Linked DNA regions of Homo sapiens: regions 2, 3, 4 and 5 are each linked to region 1. The links are contacts of gene promoters, found by promoter capture Hi-C in blood cells and fetal thymus (Javierre and others, 2016). All regions are on one chromosome and are shown on one strand. Each heading gives the region's core, a stretch centred on a gene start or on the middle of the fragment in contact. The rest is flanking DNA. Distances are from core to core; before and after follow the strand shown. Region 1 holds the start of PPP1R17 (protein phosphatase 1 regulatory subunit 17). Region 2 has its middle 72 kb from the start of LSM5. Region 3 has its middle 180 kb from the start of PDE1C. Region 4 has its middle 140 kb from the start of PDE1C. Region 5 overlaps LOC107986781 (a long non-coding RNA gene).

Region 1 (4,166 bases), core at 670-3,169:
GCCTGGAGTCAAACGTGCTGTGGAAATCAGGACTGTTTAAATTATATAACAGCTCTAGAGGGGTCTCAAGGAGCACCAGCAGTCACATCCATTATTTCTGCAGCAAAACTATGAATATTCACACTAAGTGACATAAAGACAAACCACAAAAAATTCACATTCTTTCAGGTCAGGCTTTGCTACCAAATGAGTTTGTGTTGAACTTAACAACAAACCTTTTGGTTTTCAAAATGTTTCAGATTTCTTAATTAGAGAATGAAAGAGTATTGATCGAATTACTCTTCTGGTTGTGGTTGTTTGACAGAATGTAGGTATTCAGTGTAGTATGCAAGAGACCAAGAGATATGATTTCAGGGTTTGAGAAAGGATTTCAGGATTTCAGATTTTAAACTCTTGTAACTTCCTCTTACTAATCCTTACCTTCCTTTTCACAAGGGACAAAACCTTTCTTTTTACAGAGAGATACTTGTAAATGCAAATACCACTAAGAGCAGCAATATGTAAATTGATGTCACAATACACAGGGATTGTTAATGACAAAGGTCACCTTCTCTTTTGAGAACAGGAACTGAAAGGGGGAAGGAACTGGGTGCCAGAAAAGGGACCCCACTATATTGCAGAAAGGCAGGCACACCAGCGGAGCTGAAACACATTAGTTGGTTCAGTGTGTGGTCAGAAGCTGGTCTGGATTTTTTGTCTTTTCTCTTATCATTGAGCGGTTTTCTCAGTTGGATGTGAGAATATGCGGTTTAAATTATGGGAAGAAAATTCCTCTCAACTTTAAGATTGGATGCTGTGAGTCAATATAAGGTAGAAGCCAACGTTTGGCTGCTTGTACCACTCTCTAGCTGGGTGAACTTGGGACAGTTATCTGTTCTCTCAAAAATTTAGTTTTCAAATCTGTTAAATGGGGGAAGATAGTGGCTCTTCTCCAGGGTTGTTGAGAGTATTACCCATAGAATGTGCATGGAGTCCCGAGCCCAGGTCCTACACACTGATATTTTCGTGAGTGTGAGGGACCTTCTTGGATCTTTCAGTCCTCCATTTGTGATTATATGTCTATCTAAATTGATCTATCAGAATTATCTCTTTATCCCATCTCTGGCCTTCTCTGAAGCTGGTAATGAGATGAGAATAGTTCAAGACAAAAACCAACCCATTTCTAAATCTTGGGAACATAATAGAACTGATTCTCAGAAGCGAGTTGACACTTAGCTTACCATACGGTATTCTGAAGAATATCCCCCAAAGTAATCAGGTCTTGATTTACTGGATGGAATAAAAGGGTAGAAGGTTGTATCCACAGCCTATGTGGTATCTCGTTAATGCACCCTCTGGCTATGTAAAATACATATTCATTGTCAAACCTCTTTTTAACCAGAGGATTGAATTCAGGTCAAAAAGTACCGTCTTTTAAAATCAGATTTGTTCATTTAGAAAACCTAAATTGGCAGTATTCCTGGAGGAGAGACTGACTTAAAGTAGGGCATGGAGAATGTGTTTTGAGAAGCATACTTTCTGTACTTTCCCCAGCCTTGGAAGATAAACCTCTCTATCCTGTGTGAATATGCAGATACACCAACTTCATCTTGAAACTTTGCAAATGAGTTTGTGAGGGTTCAGTCTTTTACAGAACTCCATTCCCTCCCTTGGAAGAATGACTTGAAAGTGGTAACTTTTTCTGCTGTCCACTCGGCCCCAGCTTAGCCTTGCTCCATAAAGCACAACCCCGTGCCACCAGCTACAGCCTTCTTTGTCCCAGTAACTGACTGGAAACTTGCTTTTCTCACCACAAAAGTTCTTGGAGTAAAAATCTGAAGCACTTACCAATCAGCGCAGATGCAGGGAAGCGAAGGCGAGAGACAGGGAGGGCGTGTGTGCTCACCGAGGCTGGGCCTGGCTCCTCTGCGGCAGTGGCTGCTGCTGGCCGGCTCCAGCTCCTCTTATCTAGGGACCAGCTGCTGCTGTTGCCATGGGGATGCTCTGTTTCACAGGCACCAGGGCAAGGGGGATGGAGAAGGAAAGAGGACTAACATCTCCATCGCTGCTCTCCACGGCAATCATTGTACATTACAAAAGTACAGTATAGAGTCGTGCTTTGAGTTTCCGGTGTGCACACCAGAGAAATTCAGACAAACCAGCTACATCATTGAATTCCCATGCGATAGATTTTTTTTGGCCTGATTTTGTAAATATGGAAACTGAGGCACAAGAAGTTAAGTGATATGCCCAAGAGAGGCCACAGCTAATTTCGACTCTCAAAGCTATTTAAGTTTAAATCCAGAGTACTTTCAATCACTATTGCTGCTTCTCAAAGTACTATCATGAGGAGGAAGAGAAGGGTAGCTACTGCTAACATTTATGTAAGGCTACCAAAATGCCAGACACTCTTCTAGAGACTTCACACATATCTACTTACTTAACCCTCAGGCCAACCTTGTGAGATGAGCTACAGTCATCATCCCATTTTATTGATGAGGAAGCTGGGGCTCAAGAGTTACCAAATCATCTGACCAAGGTCTCCCCACATGGTGAAGCTAGGGTTTGAATGGGGTAATGAAATGCTAGGGTCCACGCTTGTAACCACTTTGCAATACCTCTCAGCAAAGAGAGCATTTCAAACAGCACATAGCAAAGAAAGCAGCCCCCAACTCTATAGGTTATAGTGTGCAGGCCAGAAAAAATTTCCTCCTTCAAAGGAACAAAGCCAAATGTACCAATATTAGGAATACGTAGGCACTCAAGAGTGGATGTTTAAGCAAGGTGGGAGAGGCGGGAGACATGCTGTCTTTTGGAGAGGAAGGTTCTATGTTTTGGGTCTGCTCACTGGAGGAGAGCCCACTGGGGTTTGGAGGAGCAGCAGTTTTGACTCCAAAGCAGGAAGGCCAGTCTGGGAGATCAGGTAGGTATCAGGACCCACTAGAAGGGCTCCAGACCCCCTGATAGCAGCCAATGGACCACCCAGTGATGCCCAAGAAATATGTTCTCACAGAAGATACGTGAGCACCATCCACACATCCATATTTTTTCCAGTCTTACCTGAGGTTCCCTGCAGAGCAGGTCCCTGGCAACCCCTTGGTTTCAACTGCCTGCTTGCCACTGGCAATGTGTTTGTTGGTGCCTCCCTCCCACTTGCCAGGATCCCAAATAACAGGGCTAGAACCATAGTAAACTCACCAAGAGGTTGACTCCTAGGGTTAGACTTTTGCCATGGTAACAGATAAGCAGAGAATGGACTTCTTTGCCTGTTCCATTTTGTGTTGATCCTTATTGGGACCTCCTGGGAAGAGATGAGGGTTGCTGAAAGGTGATGCTCTTGTCTAGGAAGGGAAGGCCCTAGATGTTGAGGGACAGGGCCTAGAAGCAGGTCTGTGTTCAAAACTGCCTGCTTTATCTTCTTCATTTTTTAAATTTTATTTTATTTTCAGTGCTGGGACACATGTGCAGGACGTGCAGGTTTGTTACATAGGTAAACGTGTGCCATGGTGGTTTGCTGGACCTATCAACCCATCACCTAGGCATTAAACCCTGCCTTACTTTATCTTCTTAACAACAGCCTTGTTGGCCAATGAGTTAGCAGCATCTTCAGTCCACACTTGAGTGGAAAAGATATACTTTCCTTCTGAAATCCTTGAATTCTTCTTTTGAATTAAACTGTTTTGAGGTAATAGATCTACATGTCGTTGTGAGGGATAATACAGGGAGATCTCCTATACGTAAGCAGTTATATCCAATGGTAACATCTTATGAAACTATCCTACAATATCAAAACCAGTATGTTGATATTTACATGAATATATACAGAACATTTCTGTCACCACAAGCCTCCCTTATCTTGCCGTTATATAGCCATGCCCCCCTCCGTTCCTTCCTAACCTCCTGCTCCCAATCACTTTTTAAACTCGGCAACCATGAATCTATTCTCCATTTCTATAATTTTGTCAATTCAAGAATGTTTTAATAATGGAATAATACAGTAGGTAGCCTTTTGGGTTTGGCTTTTTTTTTTTCACTCAGCATTATTCCCTAGAGATCCATTCAGGTTGTTGTGTGTGTCAATAATTTGTTCTTTGTCATTGCTGAATAGTATTCCATAGAATGGACCACAGTTGGTGTGACATCTTGTATATACACCTGGATTGTTACCAATGTTTGGCTATTACAAA
Region 2 (4,166 bases), core at 687-3,186, 730 kb before region 1:
TAACCAGTTATTAATTTTAGTTTGTCAAATTAAAAAAAATACAAATAACTTGCATTTGCACAGTTTTCACATTACTTGAACAATTACAATCTTACTCAAATCTCACGACAAACCTTTGAGGTAGCTAAGACAAGCACTATTATTACCACCCCCCCTTTTTTTTTTGAGATGGAGCCTTGCTCTGTTGCCAAGGCTGGAGTGCAGTGGCACCATCTCGGTTGACTGCAACCTCCACCTCCTGGGTTCAAGTGATTCTTCTGCCTGAGCCTCACTAGTAGTTGGGATTACATGTGTGTGTGTATATGTGTGTGTGTGTGTGTGTGTGTATATATATATATACACATATATATACACATATATATATACACATATATATACACATATATATATACACATATATATACACATGTATATATATACACATATATATACACATGTATATATATACACATATATATACACATGTATATATATACACATATATATACATATATATGTATATATACATATATATGTATATATATACACATATATATGTGTATATATATACACATATATATGTGTGTGTGTGTGTGTGTGTGTGTGTGTGTGTGTATATATATATATATATATATATATATATATATGCCACCACACCTGGCTATTTTTGTATTTTTAGTAGAGACAGGGTTTTGACATGTTAGCCAGGCTGGTCTTGAACTCCTGACCTCAGGTGATCTGCCCACCTCCACCTCCCAAACTGCTGGGATTACAGGTGTGAGCCACCATGCCCAGCCTATTACCCCATTTTTACAAATAAAGAAACTGAGGTTCAGAGTAGTGCCAGGACTTGCTCTGGTCACACAGCGGACAGGATGAGTTAGGATTAGGAACCAGATCCTGGCCTCTGTGTGTGCATCTTACATCTCCGCACTGGTGGTGTCTAAGCTGTCATGGTGGAGCACAAGCACCAAGAGCGCAAGAGGCATGCTCTTTTGCATCTATGTTAGCAGCAAAGCCCTGGGTTTTTCCTTCTCAGCCAAGGAAAAATGTGGCCAAGTTGCAAAATATTGTCATTTCCCAGAAGGAGGGAGCCGAAGCCCAGGGCTAGGCAGCCACTGCCAGGAAGGTTGGGAACATTCTTTAGTCTAGAAGTAGCAGGAGCCTGCCGTGCCCTCCACTCACTGCCAGAACAGTAACTAATTTCAGGTTTATTCTCAGATGACTGGATTTTTGTGAAGCTACTAATGAGGTCACCCCATACCCCAAGGGCTCACTCTCCTGAGGGAGCTGAAGTTAACCTCCAAAGGAGACTCTCCGGGTAGGGAGGGAGTAGTTAGAGGGGCTGCTTTTTTGCTCTCTCTCTTTCTCTCTGTTGTTCTCTATACCTACTATTTTTTGAGTACTCTTTTTAGCAAGTTCTGTCTTATAAATATTCTGGAGGATACTAGGAAATTGTTAACTTGAACAATATATGAATTAAAGTAGAAGTCTAAATTCAGTAACAGGCTCTTTCTTCCAAGCTTTGTTCCCCTGTATTTTCTTCTCCCCAGCTTGTAGATTTCAAACTTGCCCATCTCAGATATCACCTCCACTTTAAACTCCTTGAACCTGAGTAAAGATATTTAAAAAATATTTTAACCAATTATTAATTTTAGTTTGTTAATTAAACTAACAGGTTGCCATTTTTTCCTCTGCCAGTCAGAGTACTGGGCTCCCTTACTGATGTCAGAGATCTTCCTAAGAGACCTCAGTAAAACTGAAGACAAAATGGGAAAAAAGAAGCCATTAGATCAGTACACACATAACAGATTCATTTATTCTTCTTGGTATCTGAGTGGGTTTTGCTTGCAGCTTAAATGCTCCAGGAGTCGGGTGGACCTCATTTACATGCTGCTTTGAAGATTACATGCAGGGCAGTTTGGAAAAAGTTTTTCATGCCCTGTCTGGCTGCTCTTTGGGACTTTAATTTTTAATTTTTTGTTTGTTTGTTTGTTTGGGACTTTATTACTTCCTGGATTTTGACACCCTAATAACTCAGTACCTTCTTCTGGTCCAAGAGACAAAAAATGTTACAAATATGAGGGCATCCCTTCAAAAATAAAGCCTCTGTTCTGAAGGAAAAAGTGAATCTTAATCTGGAAATGTGTGCTGCCGTATCTTCCCATATCTGATTATTGTCACGCAAGGATGCTATTTGGAAAGTGACTTTTTTTAATGATTGAAAAAGTGCAAATAAAACAATCATATCATTATATTTCATAGGAACAATAGACGTTAACATTTATTGAGCACTTACCCTGTGCCAGGCATACTTCATGCACCAGCATTAAACTAAGAGGTAAGTGCCATTGTTATCTCCTTTTCTTAGATGAGGACAATGAAGCTTGGGGAATTATCTGAGGTTGCACATCTAGTGAGTACGGGGGTCTTACTTGAACCCAGGTCTTAAGCCTTGTGCTGAACTGCCTGAGACATCAGTAGCAGCTTGAGGCTGATAAAAAAATAATTGGCCAACTTGCTACTGCCATGGAAAGAAATAGTATGTGGGGAAGACCATAGTACTGAGGAAGTTTCCAGAAGTAAGGCTGGGCATGATGGTTCACATCTGTAGTCCCAGCACTTTGGGAGGCTGAGGCTGGAGGATCACTTGAGCCCAGGAGTTTGAAGCTGCAGTGAGCTCTAAATACCACTGCATTTTAGCCTAGGTCACAGTGTGAGATTCTGTCTCAAAACCAAACCAAAACAAAACAAAAACAAACAAACAAAAACACAAGTTTCCAGAAGTACATTTTATAATATTTTAATGTTGCAGTCTAGATATAATTGGCAAATAAATTGATAGGTCAACAAGAGATAGCATTCAAATTACTACGTTGAGTCACATGATTTCTGTTTGGTTAAAGTTGAAATACAAGTAAAATAATAGAATTACAATATCAAGAAAAACTTGAGATAAATGAAGAAAGCGCCTAAAAGATCATCATCTTAATACAACAGATACTTTGATGCTTGCTTATAACCCTCTCCTTTTTTATGTGCACAGTATGATTTTTTTTTTTTTTTTTTACTAAATTGGGATTATAGTACCAAAAAAAAAATAGAACTTTTCCCTGGGAGTTAATATTGCTTATAGTTACACGGGCAGGCTCTGCAGTGAGAGAGATGGAGTTAGAATCTGGGCTCTGCCCATGATTAATGGGGCAAGTTACTCGAACCCTGTGAACTTCAGATTCCTCATCTGTAAAATGGGGATGCAAAAAATTCCATTTATTGAGTTGTTTGTGAGTTTAAGGGTTTAATGCAAAGCTCTCAGCATGGTGCTGGGCACAGAGTCAGTGCTCAACAGGTGTTTTTATTATTAGACATGTGAGATTTTATTAGCAGTAGTGGGATGTTTTTAGTAGGGCTTCCTTACCACTAAGGCTAAGCAGTTATCACTGGTTAAAAAAAAAAAAAAAGTCATCACTTTCTAAAAGAAATCAGTTACAACTGGGATTCACTCATGCTTTGTACCAGCTTTTCTGGGTGCCCTGAGCACCCAGCTTTTTCTTGGTTTGGGGCCTGTGCCACAGAACTGACTATGCTCCCTGGGACCGCTCAGCTCGTGGTAAATGCTTCTCGCAGCTTTGGTCCTTTTGAGCACACAGGCTAGATTAGTCTGTTCTGAGGGAGGTGGCAGCATTTAAAAGCATTGTTGTTCTCCTTAGTCTGTGCTATGTGTCGGCTGGGAGAGCCAGGCATGGGGTGGGTGTTTATGGCTAGCTCCCATATGTGGCGGTACTCTGGGCCTCTGTAGACCCACTGGCGAGTTGCCCCTCGATCTCTCCCAAGGTCACAGCTTTTTACTGTTGGCAATTTCTCCTCATACTGAGATGATACCCGTTCCTCTGCACTCATTTCCCCATAGACCTGTTCTGATTTAGAGAAGTGTGTTTTAACCATACAGACTTGACCCCCAGACTCTTCACTTTTTCCAAAGGATGTGTGCAGACCCCCATCCTGAGCCTGAGCCTTGCCCCATCTCTCACCTGCCCCAATTCCTGACAGCATCCCTGAGCTTCATCTTGTCTGTCATCCCATGCTCACCTTCCCTACACCTTGAAGAGACTGTGGACTGAATGAGAATCAGGAATGGGTGGGTGGCAGGGGATGAGGCTAGCTGATGAAATTGTATGTATAGTTTA
Region 3 (4,166 bases), core at 988-3,487, 570 kb before region 1:
GCTCCATCTAATGTTTCATGATTAAATGATCCTGAAGCCAGAGGCCAAGTGTTTCTGATGCGCTCTCAAGTTAAAAAGTTTGAGTGTGGCCTAGCCACATGCAAACTGAGGTCTATGCAAATCCAAAGCCCAGGCTCCTTCCCCTCCCCTGCGTCTGCTGCTCTCTCAGTGAGAGAGGGAAGGATGTGGGACAGGACCCCACTGGCAGAGAAATAAATCCAGGCGGTTTATCTTGGTGTCTCCCATCTGAGAGGCCTTGACTCCCATGAACTCATTAATGCTCTTAAGAGCTTTGCAAAGTGACGTCAGCCACCCTGGGTTCACGCGCTGGGCCCTTACTAGCCTCTGGGACCTCTTGTTATCAATGTGGGTGATTTCCAAAACAGAGACTTGGGTTTCTGAGCTCTTCTGGGAATACTTTGGCAATGGGGAAAGGTTCATGTTTCATCTAACTTAGGCTGGCTGCATTTGGCAGATTCCTAAGAAGAAAGGAAAAATGTTTGTTTGATTTTTTGCAAGTCAGATTTAAGGGCATGAACTGGACTTTCTGGGGCAGCCATTGTCTACTGAGTGAATTTGGGTGGGGTCTGGGGGAATTGGAAGAGGGGTGCTTGTTGGAAGCATAGAGTTGATTGCAGGGTCTTAGACCCCTGAGTAGTGCAGCCCTTCTTGGAGTGGAGTATAACTCCTTGGTAGCAGGGGTTTCTGAGATCTCCTCTGCCTTCTCCTCTCTCACTTGGGCATGTGTGTACACATTCATATACACACATGCATATACACATACATGACACACACAGACACACAAAAACATACACACTTACTCTGCATCGATTTCCCCAAGTTGGTGCTGTCTCTGATGAATAGTAGAGAAAATGTTATAATCTCTTGCTCTTCATTATCTACCTAGAAAACTGCATTTATTTATTGCTTTTGGAATATGATGACATCAGTGAAGGAAGATATCGGGCTTTCTGGCTACATTTTAAAGTTATGGAGGAAAAGGGAGAGGGTTGTTTTCCTGCTCTCTCAGGAGGTCTGATAGAGGAGAGTTGTGCTTTTTCCACCAGGGCCAACACACAAAGTTCTGTGCCTTCTCATGAATGTGCAGGGGACTTGTTTCCTGGACCTGTCAGTTCCAGTGAGGTCATAGTAGCAAGTCAAATGTCACTGGCCTTGGTCCTCACCTGCATAACATAGGACCTCCAGCTCCCTCAGAGTCTCATCCTGTTGTTTCTAGAGGTATCCATGGAGGAGTGTCATATGGACAGAACTACTCTTTTGTTCTCTTTCACCTGCAACAATGCGCCAACAATAACCTGTCCTCAAATGTACTCTTGGAGTCTAGCCCAGTCCAGATCCTCTGATACGCCCCGTATCGCCTCATTTCATTGTTTCAGTGGTGCATGAGACCCTTTGGGATTCACTGTCCCTGTCCTGCCTTCTTCCATTTCCCTCATTCCCATGCATTTTCTCAGTAGTGAGCTGCCTACGTTTTCCAAATGCGTCATGCTGATCCCTCTCCCTAGGATGGTGTTCTCAGGCTTATCTCCTAGGAAAATCCCTTTTCCTATTTTAAAAGTGAATCAGTCACTGATCTCTGATCACAGTCATTGATCTCTGATCAAATTCTCTGATCTCTGTCCTCTGACCTTAGAGTGGACACTCCCTTTCCTGGGCTCTGCTTATACGTGTGTGTCTGCGTATTGTGTTTGTTGTGCAGCAGCGCCCTTTATTGTTTATACATCATCTCCCCATGTCTGTAACCTCCATATCTAGCTCAATGCCTGGCACATTGCTTATGCCACAGAAATATTCATTTGAATTAGACTGAAATCATCTTGGCTTTCCCTGAATCCTCTCTTTCCCCAGCTGCATAAACTCAATTGTCTCCTAAAAGTAATCAGGACCCTTTGGAAATCCATCCATTTAAGAGAGATGAGAGAGCAGTGAAAAGAACAGGCTATTATAAGCAGATTCTCTTTCTACCTCTGGGGATTCATTCATTGTGAGACATTTGCTTGAAGAATGGCAGCTGTATTCTCTGGAAGGCGCGTAAGGCTGTTGGAGCATTGTGGGGTTTCGGTAAAGGCCAGTACAGCTGTGAATGGCATAGAAAGGCTATTTACAGAAGCAACAAAAAAGATCTTGTTATAAGGTCACCAATAAGGTGGTGTTTAATAAGGACTGCGTTTAAATAAGGCTTCAGGGAGTCTGGATTCACTGTTTTTGGAAATGTGAATTCTACTTCTGGGGATGACCTTAAATTTCCACTTTATAATAGATGTTGATGCCTACTTCATAGGTTGTCACGAGTATTAAATATTGTTCTTTCTAAGATACATGATCTCTCACTAAGACATCTCCAATAGCCCCAATTGCCCCTCCCACCCCAAATCCATTCTCCATTCAGCAGCCAGAATGATCTTTGAAAAACACAACTCTGAATTTGCTACACCTATGCTTAGAACCCTTTGATGGCTTCCTGTCCACTGTGCTACTCAAAGTATGGTCTCAAGAGCTGGTGTATGAGCTGTTTGTTATGGTTAGGCCATGAGAAGGGACACAAATAGAGGTCAAGCATTTAAAAACTTTTACAGTAACTGGTAGAATAATTTTATATGTGTTAAAACTAGTGGTAAAACATTTGGGCTCATATTTTGTATGTCTTTTAATTTCAATTTTCTAGTAACTCATTTTTATTGTATTTCACAAAAGTGTCAGTCCTTGACACGTTGCAAATACATAGTTTGAGCAGCACTGGGCTGCGAGGCCTGAGGACTCTGGCCCTGCCTTCCTGGATTGATTTTTTAGTTCTCTCCCACCCTCCTCTGTGCTGCAGCCACAGTAGCCTCCTCAAACATTCATCCTCCTTCCATGTGGACCTGTGCAAATGCTGTTCCCTCTGCCTGAATGCCTCCTCCTTGCCTGCCCTTGCTGTGGATTTAATTCTTGCTTGTCATTCAGGTCTCAGCTCACAGTTAGTTTCTCAAAAAAGTATCCCTTTCCCCCCAGACTAGACAGCTATATGCTCTCCTTGCACCTGGTTCTTCTCCTTCATAATATTTTACAAAATCATCAACAAATAATTAATTGTATGATTTGTTGTTAAAGCCCATCTTCCTACTAGAATATATGTTCCATGAGGGAAGATATTGTGACTGCCTTGTGGTTTGTGCCTTATAGTCCCGGGATCTTGTGCAGTGCTGGGCACAGAGCAGATGGTCAGGAAGTAGTTACTGAGTGAGCAAATGAAGACTGTTTTGGAAAATATGTTTGTGCATTGTTTATATACTTATATTAGGGAGGAGTTGACTAAAAGTAAGCAGGTCAGAGAGGAGGAGACATAAGTGATCTTGTAATATACAATTAGATTATTGGTCCCTGAATAATTGAAATTTGCATAAAATATTCATAACCACTAAGTATCCTGGCTCTATAGAGAGGTGCAAAATGGAACCCTCCCTGGAGATATTCAGGGTTGTCTATCAGTTGAGTCATCTTTACAACCACAGGGGGAGATCTGATTGATACTGTCAGACCAGATCTCACCTAAAAGGACCTCACTGTGGCTGGACCTGAGTGTGAGGAGGGGAATAGCAGGTGACACCCTGGGCTGATGGCCATGGCCAACCTTTGTCAGCAATCATAAGGAGTTTGGACTTAGCTTTAAAAGCAAGGGGGAGCTACAAAGGTTTAAGGGCAGACATGGTGGAAAATGGAGAATGGAGAAAGAGCAAAGGGTTATGAACATTTCAATGAGATGTTTATTATTCATGGATGATATTCAGTGTGTGTATTATTCTCCTCTGAGCCAGGCACTGTGCAGGTGCAGGGGTTGTGTGAGGGGGCAGGGTGGGGAGAGACAACTCTTGAGGCAGGAGAGCAGGTAGGAAATGGTGACAGCAATCCAGAGAAGATGCATGGTGGCTGGAACAGGGACTAGGATCATCCTGGAAGTGGTGGCTGGAAAGGCGCAGACAGGCTAGAGGCGGAATTGACAGGACTTGGTAATGGAATTGATTTGGAAGGCGAGGGAAAAGGAGTGAAGGATGACGAAGGTGCCTGGTCTGGAAAACCGGGTAGATGATGGTGCCCTTGCCTGAGTTGCAGCTCTAGGCCACTTATGCTATGTTTAGAGTGGGCCACCCCAGCTTCAAACGTGCAGG
Region 4 (4,166 bases), core at 594-3,093, 520 kb before region 1:
ATGTGGTGGTTCTACAAAACATTTTAGAAGACAGCAAGAATAGCCATTGTTCTTAGAACTTCTAGATCTTTTTTTTGAAATGGAAATCTTTTCTTTTAAAATGTATTTGGTGCAGAGTGTAGTAATTATTTAATTTCTTTCTTTTTATTTTTTGAGATAGAGTTTCGCTTTTGTCTCCCAGGCAGGAGTGTAGTGGCACAATCTCGACTCACTGCAACTTCCACCTCCCAGGTTCAATTGATTCTCCTGCCTCAGCCTCCCGAGTAGCTGGGATTACAGGCGCCCACCACCACGCCCGGCTAATTTTTCGTATTTTTAGTAGAGATGGGGTTTCACCATCTTGGGCAGGCTGGTCTCCTGACCTCGTGACCCGACCGCCTCGACCTCCCAAAGTGCCGGACTACAGGCGTGAGCCACCCGCGCCAGGCCCATTTCTTTCTTTTTTTGAAATGCTGCGGTGTGACAGACGATGGGAGCTGGATGAATTATTGCCTCCCCCTGCTGGTCATTTTTATATAACATCTTATATATAGTAATATATAGTAAGAGTGCAGATGATAAAGCAAAGCTAATACCCAGAAAAACAAAAGATACTAAGATGTAATTTATTAATTTTTAAAAATTGCCCAAATTAGTAATAGACAAATTGCCCAAATTAGTAATTGGCCTTATTAGTAATAGAGTGTAGATGGTGAGGCAAAGCTAATGCCAGAAAAACAAAATATACTGAGATGGAATCCATTAATTTTTAAAAAATTGCTCAAATGCAGTAAATTTTAAAATACTTACCTTTGTGAGAGGGTGGAATAAATTTTTCGACTTCTTTCATTCTTTGTAAAACGATATAATAAGTTTAGAAAGTAGTTACTGTATTGGTTTTGTCCTTTTGCTGCAACTTCTCATACATTCATGATGACGTTAGCAATCTCCTTTATTCTGTTGATGCATTGAATGCTTTTTTCTCAGCTAGAATGAACAGGTGTTTCTTGTTGATTGCTTTAGGCATTTATCCAAGTAGATCACAAATACCCATGTCTGTCTGCTATGTATACATACAACAACCAAGGTATAATGTTTATGGGCATGAAACATGGTATTTAAAATGAGTGAAACCTGTGTTTCCCCTTAACAACCAATCTCTTTTACCCAATACAATGGGTTCATAAGTTATAAGGGACATTAAATATGACTCTATCCAATGATAAGTTATATGGAGACTTTTCGTAGGAGGTAGCCTGCCCTGCTGAGAAGCTTTAGGGGTAAGGTTTCTAGGGCAGTTTTCTGAACAATTCTATTAATGAACTTCCCTGTTTGTTAGCATCTAAATTTAATATCTTTCTGAACATAAAGCCAGCTTTTTATTTATCTTCCGAAATTCCTGCCTCAGCTTTGCCCCTATGGATCCTAGGAAACCAGATTCATTTCGATGCTTGGGGTGCATTTGCATGTTGACAGACAGCACTGTTAGAGGACTCTTGGGGCCAAAGGACGTCCACTAGCTTGGAAGCTGGTGTGTGTGCCTCTTACTAAGTGGATGTAAGCCAATTAACTTCTTTAGGCCTACTAAACTGGATGTTGTTGAGATCCTCTCTAGCTTCATCCAAATATTCTAATCAAAATGATTGAGACATTTGACTTCATTTAGGTGTTGAGGGCAGCCTTGGAAATACAGACACGGAGGGAGTAAAGTTGCTTTTATTCACTTACAAAGACTCTTAAATACAGCCCGATGTCAAAGCATCCAGGGGATTGGCTGTATTGGGGCATATTTGGTGGACACATTGCTTTATTTATTTAAATTGCATCCTCTTTTTTTTTTCTAGTTGCAAATGAAGCTGGAGACAAGAATGCCAGACCACTGGCCCGCTTCTCTCGTGAGTAAATCTTGTTTCACTCCTTTCCTGGTCTCCATCAGAAAATGTTCTCCAGAGATCTTTCCCCCATGCGGTATAGCTCTTCAATTCTGTCAGGTGTTAATAAAATAGTAATGCAGGAAATATCATCTGGTTAACATCCCACTTGAGCCCAGGCTGGTGAGCTACTCATTGCTACTGCCTTTTCAATCCTTAGAACTGTGGTTTCCAAATTGTGCTCTAAGCCTTTGCTATTCCAAGTATGGTCCTCAGAGCAGCAGAATCGACATCACCTGGGGGCTTTTTAGAACCATGAAGCCTCAGTCCCCCGACCACCCCTTCAGACCTATTGAGTCAGAATTTGTATTTTAACACATTTACAGGGGATGCCTGTTCACATTAGAGTTTGAGAAGTGCTGTGCTAGGACTATCCTTTCAATCTTTCAATGAATGTTTTATGAAGATAAAGTGAGGAGAGGTACGTGAAATGCTTGTAGCTATGAAGGCATCATCACCATTCAAAGTGGACTTATGGACTAACTCCACTGGCTTTTCCTCAGTTTGGTGACACTTTGAAGCTTAGATGGATTGAATGGGTTTCCTTAGGCATTGGGGATATTCCTAGGGCTGTGGTTAGGCCATGGGGCTTCCCTTGACTCCTTTGTCTCCAGGTCTTGATCCCTATGAGTAGGAGTCTAAAGCCTCTCAATGGTTTCTGTACCAGTGTGATCAGCAAATTATCCCGCAAGTTAATGCACTTCCTGGAACGAAAACCTGGATTCCAAAGAAGGGGGGGGAAAATACTAGAGACGGATGAGGGTGGAGTGGAGACGCTCCCCAAACCCACTATGCACCAGGTGGAGAAATCGTACAACTGTAAATAGAAACGGATTTATCACTGCCTCACTGGCTTTCACTAAAAGTAATTTCACTCACACTATCTGGGCCTCTGTCTTCGCACCTGGAAAATGTTCAAAATTGGACATTGTTACATTAATTTTTTTTTTTTTGCCTTCCTAAAAGTCACCTCATCGTTCCCTCTCTAGTATTGACTACAAAAAGACTTAGTAGCTGACGTGCCATCTGACTTTTTTCCAGGTCAGTCAAAAATGTTGCTGTCTTTTGAAATTGTGGCCAGGGAGGAACTCTATAAATCCCTAGTCACTGCATTCCTCATGCAGGGTTGACTAGGTCTGAGTGTGGACAGTGCCATAGTAAATCTTATTACATAAAGCTGAAAGTATAATTTCTCTATTTACAGGCTTCTTCTAAACTCTGCCTCCCAGCTCTTTTTGGAAGGCTTTGAAACGTTGGGATTGATTTCCTAGAAATGATTTTTATAGAACTGTAATAATGTACGATAATGAAAGAGCATGAAGTGCTCATATTTTAGAAATTGTGTAATAAAACACTCGCTTCTCATGAGCCCCATTCCTCACTGCCCTCCTACCTGGAATCATTATTTGCAAAATAGATATTTCATCCCACAGCTCAACGAGGTTGAAGAATATGCTTTTATCCCATTTTTTTCTTCATCTCCTGAGCAGTTGTCAGGCAAATAAATAAGCATGAATCGTGACCCAACCACGCTGTGAGGGCTGTGCTGGGTGCCCCTTCCCCCATGGGAGTCCCAGAGGCTCACTACAAGACAGACGAAGGTTGGGGGGAGGGCGGTCCTTGCATGAGAGTTGAGGCAATTTGTCCCTTCACAGAGAAAGGAAGGTAACTTCTTGTGTGAACTTCTCAACTGTATGACTGGGTTGAAAGGATGATGTGTCTTCAAAGCTTATTATCTTGAGACAGGTGAGGACATGATGAACACGTATCTGTGTAGGAAAAAGTAATTAGTGGCAAACCAGTTAGGTTGGACTGATACAGGGAAAAAAAAGGAGAACGAAAAAGCTCCTGAGTTAATTGCCATACTCCGGAAAAAGTCAGATGGCACGTGAGCTACTAAGTCCTTTTGTAGTCTAGAGAGGGAAAGATTAGATGACTTTTAGGAAGGCAAAAAAATTATTTTTAATGTAGCAATGTCCGATTGATGCTTACTTCACTTTACCACCTTGAAACTGACCTTCATTGTGTGGTGTGAATGAAGAGTTCAGTTTGGGAAGATTGGGAGGATTCGGATGATAAGTTTTTTTTTTTTTTTTTGAGACTGGAAGATGAAGTACTGCAACATTCTCTAATTTTTGCGTCCAACAAGACAGCCTTGACAGTGTGCGTTGCCCAGTACGGAATCAGGCACGACGGGGATTGGCGGGGGCGGGTGGCCAGAGCCTGTGCTGTGATGGCTGGACCCTCTAGAGGTCA
Region 5 (4,166 bases), core at 687-3,186, 520 kb after region 1:
TAATTGACTCAAACTATGAATCCTTTATTACTTGGCTATTCTGTGCTCTTTTATTTTCTCAAACCTTATGATTCAGAAACACATATTCGTGAGAAGAGAAAGGGAACTGAGAATTCCGTCCAAGCACAGCCCAAACAAGGGATCATCCAGTCTTTCCTGAATACTTGCAATGTGACCTCTAAGTTCCCTTATCGTGATAACTTTCATGAGCAGCTAAAGTCTCATGGTTCTCCTACGCTAAAGACTCCTAAGCAGCCCCTTCCAATTTAGGACAGGTCCTCTTTCATTAAACTGAAATCTTTCTCTCTTATACCTGCCACCATTATTCCTAATTTGCTGCTTAGAAGTGAGTAGAATCAGCATGAAAAGTGTCCAGAAGGCAGAGACATATTCATATTCTTCTCTACGTGGCCCCAGCATCATGCATGGTGCCCAACCCTGAGTTTACGCTCAGTTTTTGTTTAATCTATTAAGGCTTTAAATATCTGAATGTAGCCATGAGGTACCTCCATAGCCTTAAATGTCCCTTCTCAAAACCAATGTTCTCCTATTTCTTCAAAATTCCCACAGAACATAGTGCCCAGACTGTTCACCATCTAAGTGGTCCTTTGGTTGAGCACAATATTCCAGGGGCAGTCTGACAGGTTAGAGATGTATCATCAACCTTCTTCTGTTCACTCCATTCATTCACTCACTCAATAGCTCATTCAACAAAGAACACCTTATATGCTTATTCCCAGAAAATTCTAGGAGATTCCAAAGTGAGAATTATGACTTGTATACAGCTCAACACACTTGGCTGTTGACTAATGCTTGCATTTCCCTTCAGGAAGAAGTCACGATAATAGTTCTTTCTTTCTTTCTTTCTTTCTTTTTGAGACAAAGTCTCACTCTGTTGCCCAGGCTGAAGTGCAGTGGCACGATCTCGGCTCACTGCAACCTCTACCTCCCGGGTTCAAGCAATTCTCCTGCCTCAGCCTCCTGTGTAGCTGGGATTACAGGTGCCTGACACACCTGGCTAATTTTTGCATTTTTAGTAGAGACAGGGTTTCACCATGTTGGCCAGGCTGGTCTCAAACTCCTGACCTCAGGTGATCTGCCTGTCTCGGCTTCCCAAAGTGCTGGGATTACAGGCATGAGCCACCATGCCCGGCTCGTGCTAGTTCTTTCTAAATCCACCCTGACACTAATTTCAGTTCACATGGATCATCAAATCAGTTTTTGTTCCTCGCATTGGATGTTGAGCTTCTGTTAATGTTCCTGATTGACGTAATCTTTCTCCAAAATTAATATTTTTAAAAGAAAGCTTATTTTTTCTTTCTTTCACAGTTGTACATTTATTATGCCTCCTGGTACAGCTTCTAGAGATTGCTAATCTTTCTGTTTTTCCCTTCACACAATGGGCAACATACATCTCCTCCTCTTTCAACCTATGTAGTTGCAGAAGAATAAGTCAGGCTTTCCCAGAGGAACTCTACATTCAAATATCAATCACCAGGAACCACAGGGGAAGAGGAAATAAAAGAAATGAAAGAAGAAATGTTTTGCTAAGTAGAGATTTTTTTAAAGAAACTACTTCCATACATTTGCAGGCAAGTCAGCTACAGGAATGCCTAAAAGTTTGTTATCCTCCCAAGGAACAGCTGACAGGTTTAATTTTAACACAATCCTTGAAAGAGCTTAGGGAGTCCAGGATAAACGGTTGTGCTATAAATCTGTGATACAACAGGACAGGATGGGTGTGTGCCCCCTAATAAATATTGATACTGGTTCCCAGACTTTCATATAATGACTATTTTCAAAGGGAGAGTCTTTTACCTCAATGCTTAGACTGACAGGCAATGATGTGGAAGCTCTTTCATCAACAAAATGGGTGGAGAAACACTAGCATAATTAACTCCTGTAGCTGCTTTTTTTTTTTAGACTTGTGATCCCACAACTCACAATTCACTGATTCTCTCTCTGAAGTAACTTACATTTCCCAGGTGATCAGACAAGGTCTACCAACTTCAAGGTCAAACCACCAACCAGTGAGAGATTTGAAGTCAGGCTCCATCTGAGATTGTGGCTGGGGCAGAGGGAAGCACAGGGTTTAGCAAGTTTGACTCATTGCAGGGCCAATGAAGATCCAAAGGAGAAACAAGGTGTCCATGTGGAGACCCTGGAGAGACAAAAATTGCTGCCCCAGCAGCTGCCCTCTTCTGTCACCATGTGTAAACCCACACATGAAGGAAGCCACCAAGCATTCCAAGCACCTGGGGCTGTTCCTGCTTACATAATTTCATAGAGAACAAATGCAAAGCCAGGGAAACCTGGAGTACAGCCCCAGGGGACCTGAAGAGGAAAGCAAATGAGATTCAGGGGGTGTTTTCAACTCTTTTTCCCCCATGAAGGTTCTGACTGTGGAAGAAAGAAGAGGTTGGAATAAGTGAACAACTGGATTGGACTTTTAAGCTACATTTTACAATGCCAACATGATGACTACCAGCATAAGGCAGAGGGTGTCTAACGAGAACTGATAAGGAATTTTTGGCAATATACTCCTGAAGAGAGCAAGAAAGCTTTAAACTGTGCAAGAGAGAAAGTGCCCGCATGAAATGGTAAAAACAGAGTAGGATGGACAAATCAACATTAATACATAAAAAAAAACACACTTGGCTTCTTCAAAGAGCACATAAAAAAATCCTAAACTCTTACTATTTTTAGTAAATTATTATGTAAACAATCACTAGTATGAAACTCATGACTTGAATTCAGCAGGGGAACAGTGTACATTGTCCATTTCAAACGAATTATATATTTTTTAATAAGACCAAATGAGAATGCATAAAGAGAGGCTGCCAGCTAAAATCATTAATTCATTCATTCAATAAAGATTTACCACTTAACAACTCCATGTCACATTTTGTGCTCATTAAAATCTTATGTAGGCACAGCAGCTATGTAAGTAAATATTACTTTTTTTATTTTTTTTTAGACAGAGTCTCACTCTGTCGTCCAGGCTGGAGTACAGTGGTGTGATCTCAACTCTCAGCTCACTGCAACCTTCACCTCCCGGGTTCAAGTGATTCTCCTGCCTCAGCCTCCCGAGTAGGTGGGATTACAGGCACCCACCACCGCGTCCTGCTAATTTTTGTATTTTTAGTAGAGACGGGGTTTCACCATGTTGGCCAGGCTGGTCTCAAACTCCTGACCTCAAGTGATCTGCCTACCTCAGTCTCCCAAAGTGCTGGGATTACAGGCATGAGCCACTGCACCCAGCCTCAATATTACTTCTTGCTCTTATAAAGCTTATTAGCTAGTGAGTACCTCACCATACATGTCTTTAAAAAAGAGATACAACTGAAGTCAAAGAGGGGAAAAAGGTTCTAATAAAGATCATGTGGAGAAAAGACCCCAATGGACAGAGTCAAAGTGAGAAAGCTCGCAGGTCAGCTAAGCAAGTGTTCAGTGCAACCCAATGCAATGATTAGAAGAATCCTAAAAAATCCTACAAAATAGGAATGATAATTTCCATTCACAGAGTTGTTGCAAGAAATCAATGAGGATATACATGTCAAGTACATGGGACATAGTAAGTACCTAACAAATAGTGATTTTTAAAGAATTTTAAAACTTTATACTTTCTGTCTTATATTTCTGAATTATTTGCATTTTTACAATAAATATATAGTATAATGATAATCAGGAAAAAAGGAGGGAAAGGAAACCTGCCAAAATATAAGGAAGTATGTAAATTAATCTTCAATAAAGTTGATTTCTTTTTTAAATACATGGAAGTACAGTAGTCCCCCCTTATCCACAGTTTGGCTTTCCTCTATTTCAGTTTCCTATGGTACAGTACAGTACAGTAAGATATTTTGAAAGAGAGACCACAGTCACATAACTTTTATTACAGTATATTGCTAAAATTGTTCTATTTTATTATTTTGTTAATCTCTTACTTTGCTTAATTTATAAATTAAATGTTATCATAGATATGTGTGCAAGGAAAGAAACATAGTATATATAGGGTTCAGTACAATCCGCAGATTCAGGAATCCACTGGGAGCCTTGGAATTTACCCCCCACAGATAAGGGGAACTACTATATTGAGGTGAAATGCTGATCTCAAAAACTAGGACAGGATTATCCAAACCCAACTTCCTTCTCCCAGAGCTCATGTT

Evidence for each region. Contacts are between HindIII fragments. The CHiCAGO score rates a contact against its expected background, and 5 or more counts as called.
Region 2: a fragment that was not itself captured here is called in contact with the fragment with the promoter of PPP1R17 in region 1 in 1 of 17 cell types (neutrophils); the score reaches 5.1 in neutrophils.
Region 3: a fragment that was not itself captured here is called in contact with the fragment with the promoter of PPP1R17 in region 1 in 1 of 17 cell types (neutrophils); the score reaches 5.2 in neutrophils.
Region 4: a contact is called between a fragment that was not itself captured here and the fragment with the promoter of PPP1R17 in region 1, in 1 of 17 cell types (endothelial precursors). The highest score is 5.8, in endothelial precursors.
Region 5: a contact is called between a fragment that was not itself captured here and the fragment with the promoter of PPP1R17 in region 1, in 1 of 17 cell types (endothelial precursors). The highest score is 5.5, in endothelial precursors.

The regions. Positions count from the first base shown.
Region 1 is chr7:31,684,968-31,689,133 of GRCh38, reverse strand. It overlaps PPP1R17 (protein phosphatase 1 regulatory subunit 17), which reads right to left and starts at 1,919. Exons shown (of 5, transcript NM_006658.5): 1 at 1,828-1,919. It also overlaps a transcript of PDE1C not described here. The HindIII fragment of the contact is 9,056 bases long and covers 1-4,166 here.
Region 2 is chr7:32,416,553-32,420,718 of GRCh38, reverse strand. It overlaps a transcript of PDE1C not described here. Among named protein-coding and RNA genes, the nearest start is that of LSM5, 72 kb to the left of the region's middle. The HindIII fragment of the contact is 863 bases long and covers 1,505-2,367 here.
Region 3 is chr7:32,251,305-32,255,470 of GRCh38, reverse strand. It overlaps a transcript of PDE1C not described here. Among named protein-coding and RNA genes, the nearest start is that of PDE1C, 180 kb to the right of the region's middle. The HindIII fragment of the contact is 4,848 bases long and covers 1-4,166 here.
Region 4 is chr7:32,207,197-32,211,362 of GRCh38, reverse strand. It overlaps a transcript of PDE1C not described here. Among named protein-coding and RNA genes, the nearest start is that of PDE1C, 140 kb to the right of the region's middle. The HindIII fragment of the contact is 1,180 bases long and covers 1,254-2,433 here.
Region 5 is chr7:31,167,057-31,171,222 of GRCh38, reverse strand. The region is part of intron 2 of LOC107986781 (a long non-coding RNA gene); the gene reads right to left. Among named protein-coding and RNA genes, the nearest start is that of ADCYAP1R1, 120 kb to the right of the region's middle. The HindIII fragment of the contact is 1,255 bases long and covers 1,309-2,563 here.